Regions from separate parts of the Homo sapiens genome. Here region 2 is linked to region 1. The links are contacts of gene promoters, found by promoter capture Hi-C in blood cells and fetal thymus (Javierre and others, 2016). All regions are on one chromosome and are shown on one strand. Each heading gives the region's core, a stretch centred on a gene start or on the middle of the fragment in contact. The rest is flanking DNA. Distances are from core to core; before and after follow the strand shown.

Region 1 (5,642 bases), core at 2,084-4,583:
CTGTATGTGTGTGTGTGTGTGTGTGTGTGTGTGTTGTAGTTTGTGTATAGGAGGAGGGTGTTCTTTGGGGGTGTCACTCAGCAGCCTGACCCCTGAAGCATGAAAGTTTCAATAACATGACTCTGAAAAGGTGGAAACTTTGAGTTCCTTTCCCCTTAGACTTTTGAGGGGGTTTTGGGGTTTGCATTTTAACAGTCTTGTGATTAGAGACATTGAGTGGGCTGTGAGTCCCTTGGGGCTGAGTGGTAGGGAGGTCCCAGAAGAGAGGGAGTTGGTGGATGCAGATCAGCAGCCCTCACCCTCACTCTCACCCCATCCCAGGTCTGGCTTGTCTCCACATTGCCACCCTTCAGAAGAACCAACCACTCATGGAATTGCTGCTTCGGAATGGAGCTGACATTGATGTGCAGGTGAGACAGCCAGCAAAGCACTGCCCGGCCCAGGGCCTGCCCCCACCTGACACATCCCCAAGTCCCCTGCCCAGCAGTCAGAAGTGGTGGCATTCACTTCCTTATCCAGAGCCCAGGCCCAGCACACTGCCTCTGAGGGCCTTGGCTGACATCCTTATTCCTCCCCAGGAGGGCACCAGTGGTAAGACAGCGCTGCACCTGGCTGTGGAAACCCAAGAGCGGGGCCTGGTACAGTTCCTGCTCCAGGCTGGTGCCCAGGTAGATGCCCGCATGCTGAACGGGTGCACACCCCTGCACCTGGCAGCTGGCCGGGGTCTCATGGGCATCTCATCCACTCTGTGCAAGGCGGGTGCTGACTCCCTGCTGCGGAATGTGGAGGATGAGACGCCCCAGGACCTGACTGAGGAAGTAAGTGGCATATGCTTTGCTCTCCAGGGCCTTGCACACCCATAGCAGAGAGAGGTTCTGTCATTAGCTGAAAGGGCCAGGGAGCCAGGAGTCCTGGGGTATAACCAGGACTCTGCCACTGACCAACTGTGGGAACTTGAGCCTGTTTCCTTAGTTGGTCCAAGGAGCCAAATTTGGACTCTTACAGGGACCCTGCAGTTAAAGTGAATCAGTGAAGTTGGCCAGATATGAGACCATGGTGTGGTGAGGCCTATAAGAACCCAGAGAGCCATCCCTGAGGGTCTCTGTACTCAGCTTCAGCAAAGGCTTACAAAGCAGGAGTGTAGGCCCAGTTTTTCCTGGTCTTGGACTTTCTTGAGAGGTGAAACTCAGATTTTCTGTACAGTCTTTCCTATTTTTAAATGTTCAGTGTAAAAAAGAAACCTAAATGTTCTGCGAGTACCCAGCAGCCCCCCCACCCCATCCCCCAACAACAACAAACAACTCCAGGTCCATGGGCTGGATCACCTCTAAGGGTCCCTCCTAACTCGGATATTCTGGCATTATCTTAGAAAAGGAAGGCTTGTCTAAGTCCTCAGGGCTCTGCCAAGCCCAGAGGGGCCACTATTTTGAGGATTCGTGTGAAGATTTGTTCCCTGATGGTCTTCAACTGTCATTTGGTGGGGAGGGAGTGGCCCAACAGGTTTCCCTGGGTCCCCTTTCCCAAGTCACCTTTTCCCATGTCCTCTGATCTTGCTTCTCTCCATTCTCCTTCTCAGTCCCTTGTCCTTTTGCCCTTTGATGACCTGAAGATCTCAGGGAAACTGCTGCTGTGTACCGACTGAAGCCAGGCAGGGTCTGGGATCCTCAGGGCTCCACCTCTCCATCTGGAAGCCGGAGCCATAACTGCTGCAGTTTGGGCCCAGGCTATGTGCTCTTCTGGTGCCCTAGGGACTGCTGTGGCCAGAGCCTGGGGCCAGCCAGTACAGTCCTGAGCCGAGGAGGAGGGACTGCAAGTGGAAGAGAGCCAGTCTGGAAGGAAGAGCTTTCCAGGTGGACAGGGCTTCTTGGAAGACCCCCAAAGCCCCAGGTATCCTGGGTGAAGCCTGTTTGCCTCTCTTGAAAATGGCAGGTGCTCTTGTTTTACCCATGTTGGGTCAGCCTGAAACTGCCAACCAGTAGGAAGCATGGACTCTCCTGAGTGAGAAGAGACTGAAATAGGAGCAAGCAGAACCCTGAGAGGTGTCCCATCTTATTGCTGTTGAGGACCCTGAAACACCGTTGTTTAAAGACTTCACACAGAAGGCTCTGAACTGAGCCACTGGGGAAGGGAAGTTTCAGTAACATGACACTAAAATGGCAGAGACGTTAAAAAAAGTTTTTCCCTTCTAGAGCTGTTTTGCGCGCATGCATGTCTGTGTGCATTGGGGCTTTTTAGACAGGCCTGCCCTGTGACTTTGTGGTAGAGGCAGAGAGAAGGAAATTGTCCCCTGAGCACGGTAGGGCCTTGCTGGGTGGGGTCAGAGGCCAGTAGTTCCAGGCCTTTCTCTGTGTCCAGCACAGACCCTTGTCCTTGCTGTGGAAATGATGAGGGATGGAGGGACAAGAGGAAGAATGAGAGGACACACGCCCTGGAGCCCTCACCACTGCCCTGGGGGTTGCCATCTGGAGGAGCCTGGGGATAAGGGTAACCCAGGGAGGCTGGGCACGAGGGAGCTGACTCCACGTTTTTCCCCCCGTTCCTCACCTTCGAGGGCCCTGCTAGGTCACCCCTATGCTGGCATGAAGAGCATGGGGCAATAAACCAGCACAGTCTCTGACCACTTGGAGCGTCTCATCCAGTGAGAGAGACAGCCGTTAAAAGCATAAACATCCAAATAAAGATGCCTTTCCAAGTTGCAGTGGGTGCTATGAAGGGAAAAGAATAGTGGGAAGGAAAAGGATGGAGTCGGTAGAGGGTCATACTTTGGGTGGTCCGGGAACCCTCGCCTGAGGAGTATCATCTCAACTGGGATGTAAGGATGAGTAAAGGGATGGGGGCAGAGCATTAGGGGGAAAGCCTGTGAATTAGAGGAACTGAGAGCAAGCCAGTGGGGCTTCACAGCGGGCGAGTGAGTGGGCGAGGAACGCGGGCGAGGCCATGTAGAGCCTCGAAGATCATGGGAAGTGGGACAGAATTACTACCCAGCCAACAAAGCAAGGAGACACCTTCATCCTGTCAGAAAACGGGGAAACTAACACAGAGGAGCGGCTTGGGATGCAGAGCCTCAATGTCCTGTCCACAAGATGGCAATGGTCACCATGACCTCTGGGACGCTTATGAAGGGCGATGACGAAGCACAGGGGACACGCCGGGCGGGCGCCTCTTCAGGGCTGGGGCTCCCCGCGCCCAGGGGCAGCCCAGGTCCCCGGAACCCAAGCCGCGTCTGCCTCCGGGCCGCGCGGGGGCGCTGTGGTCCGGCGGCGGCCCGGGGCGCTGCGTGGTCGCGGCAGGGGCGGAGGGGGCCGCGGGGAGGGAGGCGGGAAGAGCGCGGCACTTCCGCTGGCCGCTGGCTCGCTGGCCGCTCCTGGAGGCGGCGGCGGGAGCGCAGGGGGCGCGCGGCCCGGGGACTCGCATTCCCCGGTTCCCCCTCCACCCCACGCGGCCTGGACCATGGACGCCAGGTGGGGGCTAGGGCAGCAGCGAGCTCACGTGACCGAGCCCCCGGGCCACGTGACTGCCGCGCCTCAGCACGGGGGCCGGGTGGGGTCCCGGCTGCTCGGCCGTCGGCCAGCATATCGCTGCCCGGAGCCAGCGGGGATGGGAGCTGCGGCTTGGTTTTGTGCTCCTTGGGGAGCTTCGGGCGGAGGGGCTGGGGACCCTGACGTCCCGGATCGTGGAGGGGAGTGTGGGGGAAGGGGCGCTTCCTCTGACCTGAGCAGCCGGCTAGCGTTGGAGGGAACAGAGGAGACCTGTGTGGCCAGAGGGGCGGATCCGCCCCCGGGGAGGGAGGAAGCTCTGCCTGGCCAGCGCCGGCGCACCCCCTCCCCGAGAGAGAGAGAGAGAGAGAGGCTCTTTGTCCGGGCCGGAGCTGCAGCGGAGGGGGCGGGGAGGAGACTCCGGGCACTACTCCAGTGTGGTCCCCTCTGGAGGGCGGAGGGGATGAGGAGCTGCGCCCTAATCCTTATGTCCGCTTTCCTTACAGATGGTGGGCAGTGGTGGTGCTGGCTGCGTTCCCCTCCCTAGGGGCAGGTGGGGAGACTCCCGAAGCCCCTCCGGAGTCATGGACCCAGCTATGGTTCTTCCGATTTGTGGTGAATGCTGCTGGCTATGCCAGCTTTATGGTACCTGGCTACCTCCTGGTGCAGTACTTCAGGCGGAAGAACTACCTGGAGACCGGTGTGTGAAGAAAGGGCGGGGAAGTGAGCTAGGTCGGGAAAGAGGGTATTTGGCCAGCAGTCCAAACGGGATATGACTTGGAGAGGGCGGGAGGTCGGTAGGCCGGACAGCAGGGCAGGCTGGCTGCTCTGGGGAAGATGAAGTGCTATGGAGAAGATTTGGGGCTTGACTTTGTGTGCTTTCTTCAGGTAGGGGCCTCTGCTTTCCCCTGGTGAAAGCTTGTGTGTTTGGCAATGAGCCCAAGGCCTCTGATGAGGTTCCCCTGGCGCCCCGAACAGAGGCGGCAGAGACCACCCCGATGTGGCAGGCCCTGAAGCTGCTCTTCTGTGCCACAGGGCTCCAGGTGGGTAGGTGGGCTCAGCCTCTCTTCCTGGGTTGGATGCCGGTGGGCAGGGATTCTGTGAAGGTTTCCATTTTACCAGTCCCAGAGCTTTGCTGGCTGGTGTGTTTCGTGTCCTCCTCCCAGGGGCACACTGCACCTCCATCTTTGAGGTGTTTGGGGGAAATGCCCTTTTGTTTCTTCCTTTTCTCCTCTCCAGCACTGGTACTGAAAGTTCATGCTGTTATTTCAAGATGTCTAGTGCAGAAGAGAGGACTCCTCTTGCCCTATTCTCTGTGATTTCTACTGTGCCGTTATTATACTTCCTTCCTGCACTGGTGTCTCACATACTGTAAACCCACTGATAAAATTGTGGGGGAGCCATTCAGCCTTCCCCCAGTACTGCATGTGAGAGAGTGCTAACATGCTGACCCCATGGCATTTTGCAGTGGGTACTAGTTCCACCTTGAATATCATGTTGAACTACAGATACCCAATTCTGAGAGTTCTTGCCTCCCTGAATAGGTTTTTCACACACAGTTGATTCCCTACAAGGTGAATCCAGACTTAGGAGGGGAGAAGAAACTTCTACAGAGGAACCAAAAAGTGTATATTTTCCTTTGAATCACTTAGGCATAATCCTGAAGAGAGAGAGGTCAATTTTTGTCTACCTTTTCATTATCTTGCTTATTGTCTCCTTTGTCTCTACCTTCCCCAACAGGTGTCTTATCTGACTTGGGGTGTGCTGCAGGAAAGAGTGATGACCCGCAGCTATGGGGCCACAGCCACATCACCGGGTGAGCGCTTTACGGACTCGCAGTTCCTGGTGCTAATGAACCGAGTGCTGGCACTGATTGTGGCTGGCCTCTCCTGTGTTCTCTGCAAGCAGCCCCGGCATGGGGCACCCATGTACCGGTACTCCTTTGCCAGCCTGTCCAATGTGCTTAGCAGCTGGTGCCAATACGAAGCTCTTAAGTTCGTCAGCTTCCCCACCCAGGTGCTGGCCAAGGCCTCTAAGGTGATCCCTGTCATGCTGATGGGAAAGCTTGTGTCTCGGCGCAGCTACGAACACTGGGAGTACCTGACAGCCACCCTCATCTCCATTGGGGTCAGCATGTTTCTGCTATCCAGCGGACCAGAGCCCCGC
Region 2 (5,524 bases), core at 1,853-4,352, 640 kb after region 1:
CACAAGAAGGCCCAGAGTTCCTGAGCCATTTGCAGACAGGAGAGAGGGGCCCCCAGCCAGAACAAAGCTCACCTTTCCATGTATGGGGCTCTGGCCTCTGCCTCCTGTTTGGACTGTCTTCATCTGTCCATTCCATGCCTCCCTCTACAGTGTCACCCCCATCTTCACATTGTCCAGTGTGTCTGGAGAGAGTCTGGACCTCCTCAAAGTCTTTCTGAATATTCTGCCGCCACTCACCAACAGCAAAGAGCAGGAGGAACTCATGCAGCAGCTGACGGAGTTCCAGGTAGTTGACTGCCCAAACATCTAATAGGCTGGGAAACAGGGAGGGGCTGCTTCAGACCAAACCCAGAGTCTGTTTAGAGATTTTGGACCCACCAGCCCTACTTGGCAGGCCATTGATAGCGTTTTCTTTGGCTTCAGGTGGATGAAATCTACACAGTACCAGAGGTGGGGACTGTTGTTGGAGGAACACTTTCCAGGTAAATTGTCTTGCTTGCTACCCTCCCCACTCAGCCCTCACCTATATACTCAAAGACATCCTGGCCCAAAGGAGGAGACCCTGGAATTGAACGGAACCCATTTAAAGGACATGCTTATTTGCAGATTAGGCTTTCACTATCAGAAGAGCTGGAGAACGGTAGTCTGTTGGCTTTGGAGGGAAGAAACAGTATTGCTGCCTATTGGGGAATCTCCAGGCCCCTGAGAGAGAAGTGTGGGTCTTGAGCTCCAGGAAGAAAACTAGAGTGTATTCAACTGACTTCATCTCACACAGGGAAATGAGAGACGTCACTTAAGACTCTTCTTTCTTTCTTTCTTTCTTTTTTTTGAGACAGAGTCTCGCTCTGTTGCCCAGGCTGGATTGCAGTGGAGCGATCTTGGCTCACTGCAACCTCTGCCTCCTGGGTTCCAGCAATTCTCCTGCCTCAGCCTTGAGTAGCTGGAATTACAGGCGCCTACCACCATGCCCGGCTAATTTTTGTATTTTTAGTAGAGATGGGGTCGTCACCATATTGGCCAGGCTGGTCTTGAATTCCTGACCTCAAGTGATCCACCTGCCTCAGCCTCCCCAAGTGCTAGGATTACAGGTGTGAGCCAACGCGGCTGGCCTAAGACTCTGCAAAGCAGAGAATGAAACCCAAGGGGATAACTTGCTCCTTCAGTGATTAGGTGTTCGGTGTTGTTAAACCAGCAAGTGTCTCTCTGTCCACCATCACTGCTGGCCTTTTATGAAATTAGTCTTCTGATTCTGAACTCTGGCAGTGAGCCCTGTTACATCCAAGTCAGAATTTAGGGTTCTTCCCCACTTGAGGGACTCAACCCTAGAAGGGAAGGAATGCTCTGGGTGATCCTAATAGAGAAGTAGGTATGGGGACCTTGGCTGACACTGTGCCACCTGCCCTCTGGGCTGCAGTGGGATTTGCCGTGAGGGGGACCAGCTGGTGGTGGGCCCCACGGATGATGGCTGCTTCCTGGAGCTGAGAGTATGCAGCATCCAGCGCAACCGCTCTGCCTGTCGTGTGCTGCGAGCTGGTCAGGCTGCTACACTGGCGCTTGGGGACTTTGACCGTGCACTGCTTCGCAAGGTGAGGTGGGTGCATGGGTTGGGGAGGGAACGCTAAGAGAAGTGCCTAGGAGACTGGCTACTGAATGAGCACCTATCTAAGGTGCTTCAGAGAAACTCAGAGGAAACACACTCTCTGACCCAAGAAGCTTCTGGTCTAGCTACGTAGACTATAAAAACAGCTTAACGTACTCATGAGGTACAGATAACTAAATATGAATCACTATGTTACACTGTTTTTAATGAACACTATTTTTAGTGTTCAGGACCCTAAAAATGTGAAGCGTTAGATGGGCTAGAGGACGTAGGAGGTGGGTAAAGACTCATTCCCTCTGAGAGTTTTGATTATTGTCTTTTGAGGTCTTTGTGTTTAGAGTTGTGTAGAGGAAGAGGAAATTCAGGAGCTATAAAGGGTGTGGGGTGGCTGGGGAGGGAGAGTCTGATGTTAGAGCTGCCCTTCCTGGGCCTGGGGTCTGTTCCTCCCCAGGGCATGGTGATGGTGAGCCCGGAGATGAATCCTACCATCTGCTCGGTGTTTGAGGCAGAGATAGTCTTACTGTTCCATGCCACCACCTTCCGACGAGGATTCCAGGTGACAGTACACGTGGGCAACGTACGTCAGACGGCAGTGGTGGAAAAGATCCATGCCAAGGTGAGAGGGACCTGGCCTTCCATTTCTCCAGAGGTCAGAAAAGAGGGAGGCCTGCCCCAGACTGGCAGAGAACTCCTTGATCCCACAATGGGAATAAAACCCCACTTAGGGTGGGTAGCGGCCTGATAGGCCTCTGGAGGGTGGAGAGCCACGGCTGGCAGAGAATGGGACAGAAGGCACTGGCCAGGGGAGTGACCACTTATTTGCTGCAGGACAAACTGCGGACAGGCGAGAAGGCAGTGGTACGTTTCCGCTTCCTGAAACACCCAGAGTACCTGAAGGTGGGCGCCAAACTGCTGTTCCGGGAGGGTGTCACCAAGGGCATCGGCCATGTCACTGATGTACAAGCCATTACAGCAGGAGAAGCCCAGGCCAACATGGGCTTCTGAACCCTTCAGGCAGGGACAGTTCTATTGCTGTCCCTACAATATATAAGGTGACTTCTGGCCATGCTGCCCTGCCATTGGCGGCTCTGTGTGTTAATAGGCTAGGGAGAGAGGGGTGCTGTCTGCCACTTGCTCCCTGCCAACTTTCTGGAGAGGTGCCAAACTTGGTGTGGCCAGGAAAGGGCAGTCCTGAGGGAGAAGACAGGATTCAGGGCAGTGCTCCGAAGCTGTGTGCTCACCTGGTTGGCTCATCAAACCTGGCAACCCTGTGGCCTGTCTGCCGGAGCTGACTGGATCCACTCATCAATTCTTCGTCCCCACTACTAAGACTGGGCATGTTTTGCTGGTGTGGTCTCTGCACTTCAGGAATGGTCACAACAGGGGGTAGCCCTCAAAAGCACTCCTTTTTCTATACCTCTTCTCAAGGCCATGTAAGTTGCCCATCTCTACCTGGCTGTGGACAAAAGGTTATCTGCTCTTGGCCATCTGGTGGTGGTGGCGGCCCAGAGTCTGAAGAAATGGCACAGGGACAGTGAATGGTAGTGTTGCCACCCTGTGCTGAGGCCTGAGGCCTCTTCCTCAGCTTTATCTCCCTTTCCTTCACTCAAGGGCCATTTCCCCAGTCCCTATCTCCCCCATCCCCTCCCGGCTTATAGGCCCCACAGGTGCTATTTGTTGTGCTGGCCCAGGCGTGGGGCTACCAAGCAAAGGCTTGGCATATACCAAAGGCCAGCTGCATGCCCATCAGTCTGGTCTTTTTCCTCTGCGGTCATGTTGGCTTTCATGCTGGATCAAATGTTTTACTTTCCCAGACTGGTGGCATCTGAGTTCCCCATCCTACCACTCTCACCCCACTTTCCTGCCCCACCTAAACCCTCGTTTTAGTAATTTGTAGTGACTGTTCCCTTCCCTCTGTTGCAGGGAACCAGGAGGAAAGGGAAAGATGTTGCCATATTTCCTACTCTTTAGGCATGGACTCTCCTTTCCCTTTGTTAGTGTCCTGGGTTCCCATGGACTCAGGGATTTGTTGGCTAAGGTTTCTCTGTGCATATATATATATATACATATGTATATATATTTAAATACACATATATATTGTACAGAATAAAAATGTTTTATTGAATACACTGTGCTTATGCGTTAGCTACAGGCTCAGCTTCCTTCCAGGGCTAGATACCTCTTCAGGATTAGAGACAAGTGAAACCCCAACACTGCTGAGCCCTGAATGTGGAAAGAGCCCAGCTGGTATCTCGTTCACCATTGTTTTTCTCTCCTCCACATAGGTTCAGAGTTCCAGTATTGTAACCAAGTATTGTGGCCTATTTTCCGTAGTTCAAGTGAGCAGAATACTGAGGCCTTTCACGTGAAATAGGTAGCTACCCTGTATTTGAAGAGTTGGCCACTTGCTAGTGGTCAGAATAGTAAGGAGCCCACTTCTGTGCCCTGGCAGAGATACAGTGCCAGCTACTTAAAGAAGAGTAGAATTTAGAGACAAAAGGTAATCTGGTCCCATATTTTTCAAGTTTACATAGCCTAAATTACTCTTGGAACAATGAGGGCCACTTGACCAAACCTTAGTCCCTGCTCCTGTTTCCATGTTCATACTACTTGATTTTGACATTTTATGGGTAAATAGGGGCCAAAGTCAACTGTAAATAGAAACTGCATTTTGAGGAGACCCTGGAAAAGAAATATGTGACCCAAAGTCCTATGTGGCATTCTGCCTCTAGAGTATTAAAGTGATAGCTTCCCTACCACTCAGGCTGTTTTATAAAATGTAACTGGTTTAACTTGCTACTAACAAGCCTGTAGTTGAACAACTTCCTCCTGTATTAGGGGCTAAGCTGTTTACTTCCTCTCTATAGCTGCTGATAGAGATGAAAGCTTTGTCCACAATTTACTTATCTTTTGCCTGTATTGTAAAGAAAATTTTGGAAAATCACATTTCAGTACTTAATAAGACATCTCCAGGAACTAGTGAGCCTCTCTGCAACATTAATGGAACATTTAGGGGGATAAAAAGTATATAAGGCAGACTCCCAAGGAGTTTATACATGTTTATGATCCCAATTGTGGTAATCAGATCTAAAATTCTTCACTATATACATTCATCCAATGAGTATCAGCACCTATCATGTGCAAAGCACTATGAAGAATCTTTGCCTTTAAGAAGCTACATAGCTAGTTAGGGGGAAAAGGCCACGTATACAGTGAATGTAGTCTTTTTTTTTTTTTTTTTTTTTTTTTTTTTTGAGACAGGGTCTCAGACTGTCACCCAGGCTGGAGTGCAGCGGCACAATCATGGCTTATTGCAGCCCCAAACTCCCAGATTCAGGTGATCCTCCCAACCTCAGCCTCCTGAGTAGGTACGACTACAGGCATAAGCCACCATCTTTGTATTTTTTGTAAAGACTGTTTTGCCATGTGGCTTAGGCCGGTTTTGAACTCCAGGGCTCCAGTAGTCCACCCACCTCAGCCTCCCAAAGTGTTAGGATTACAAGCATCAGCCACCGTGACTGGCTAAATATTGTCTTTTATTAGATATTCAAGTATCATAAAAGCAGAAAATATTTTTGAAGAAAAAAATTTCCTGGTAAATCTAGTGGTTTTCAAATCTTCCCCACCTCTTCAAACTAAATATAGAACCCCCCCCCCAATTTATAAATAAAATAAAAAGTAGAAGTTGGGGCTGGCCTGGTGGCTCAGGCCTGTAATCCCAGCACTTTGGGAGGCCAGGGCGGGTGGATCACTTGAGATCAAGAGTTCAAGACCAGCCTGGCCAACGTGGCGAAACCCCATCTCTACTAAAAATACAAAAATTAGCCAGGCGTGATGGTGCATGCCTATAATCCCAGCTACTCAGGAGGCTGATGCAGGAGAATCGCTTGAACCCGGGAGGCGGAGGTTGCAGTGAGCCGAGAT

Evidence for each region. The method cuts DNA at HindIII sites, captures the fragments that hold promoters and counts their contacts. A CHiCAGO score of 5 or more calls a contact.
Region 2: a contact is called between a fragment that was not itself captured here and the fragment with the promoter of SLC35B2 in region 1, in 1 of 17 cell types (naive B cells). The highest score is 5.0, in naive B cells.

What each region holds. Positions count from the first base shown.
Region 1 is chr6:44,255,219-44,260,860 of GRCh38, reverse strand. It overlaps SLC35B2 (solute carrier family 35 member B2), which reads left to right and starts at 3,333. Exons shown (of 4, transcript NM_178148.4): 1 at 3,333-3,461; 2 at 3,983-4,176; 3 at 4,365-4,519; 4 at 5,217-5,642. The coding sequence starts at 3,451. It overlaps NFKBIE (NFKB inhibitor epsilon), which reads left to right. Exons shown (of 6, transcript NM_004556.3): 4 at 322-410; 5 at 579-818; 6 at 1,577-2,695. The coding sequence ends at 1,642. RefSeq lists a silencer at 3,115-3,654 and enhancers at 3,031-3,744, 5,174-5,642. The HindIII fragment of the contact is 10,724 bases long and covers 1-4,396 here.
Region 2 is chr6:43,618,695-43,624,218 of GRCh38, reverse strand. POLH (DNA polymerase eta) reads right to left here. Exons shown (of 11, transcript NM_006502.3): 11 at 3,696-5,524. GTPBP2 (GTP binding protein 2) reads left to right here. Exons shown (of 12, transcript NM_019096.5): 8 at 151-286; 9 at 424-482; 10 at 1,415-1,586; 11 at 2,052-2,216; 12 at 2,429-3,725. The coding sequence ends at 2,605. Among named protein-coding and RNA genes, the nearest start is that of GTPBP2, 7.8 kb to the left of the region's middle. The HindIII fragment of the contact is 2,773 bases long and covers 1,716-4,488 here.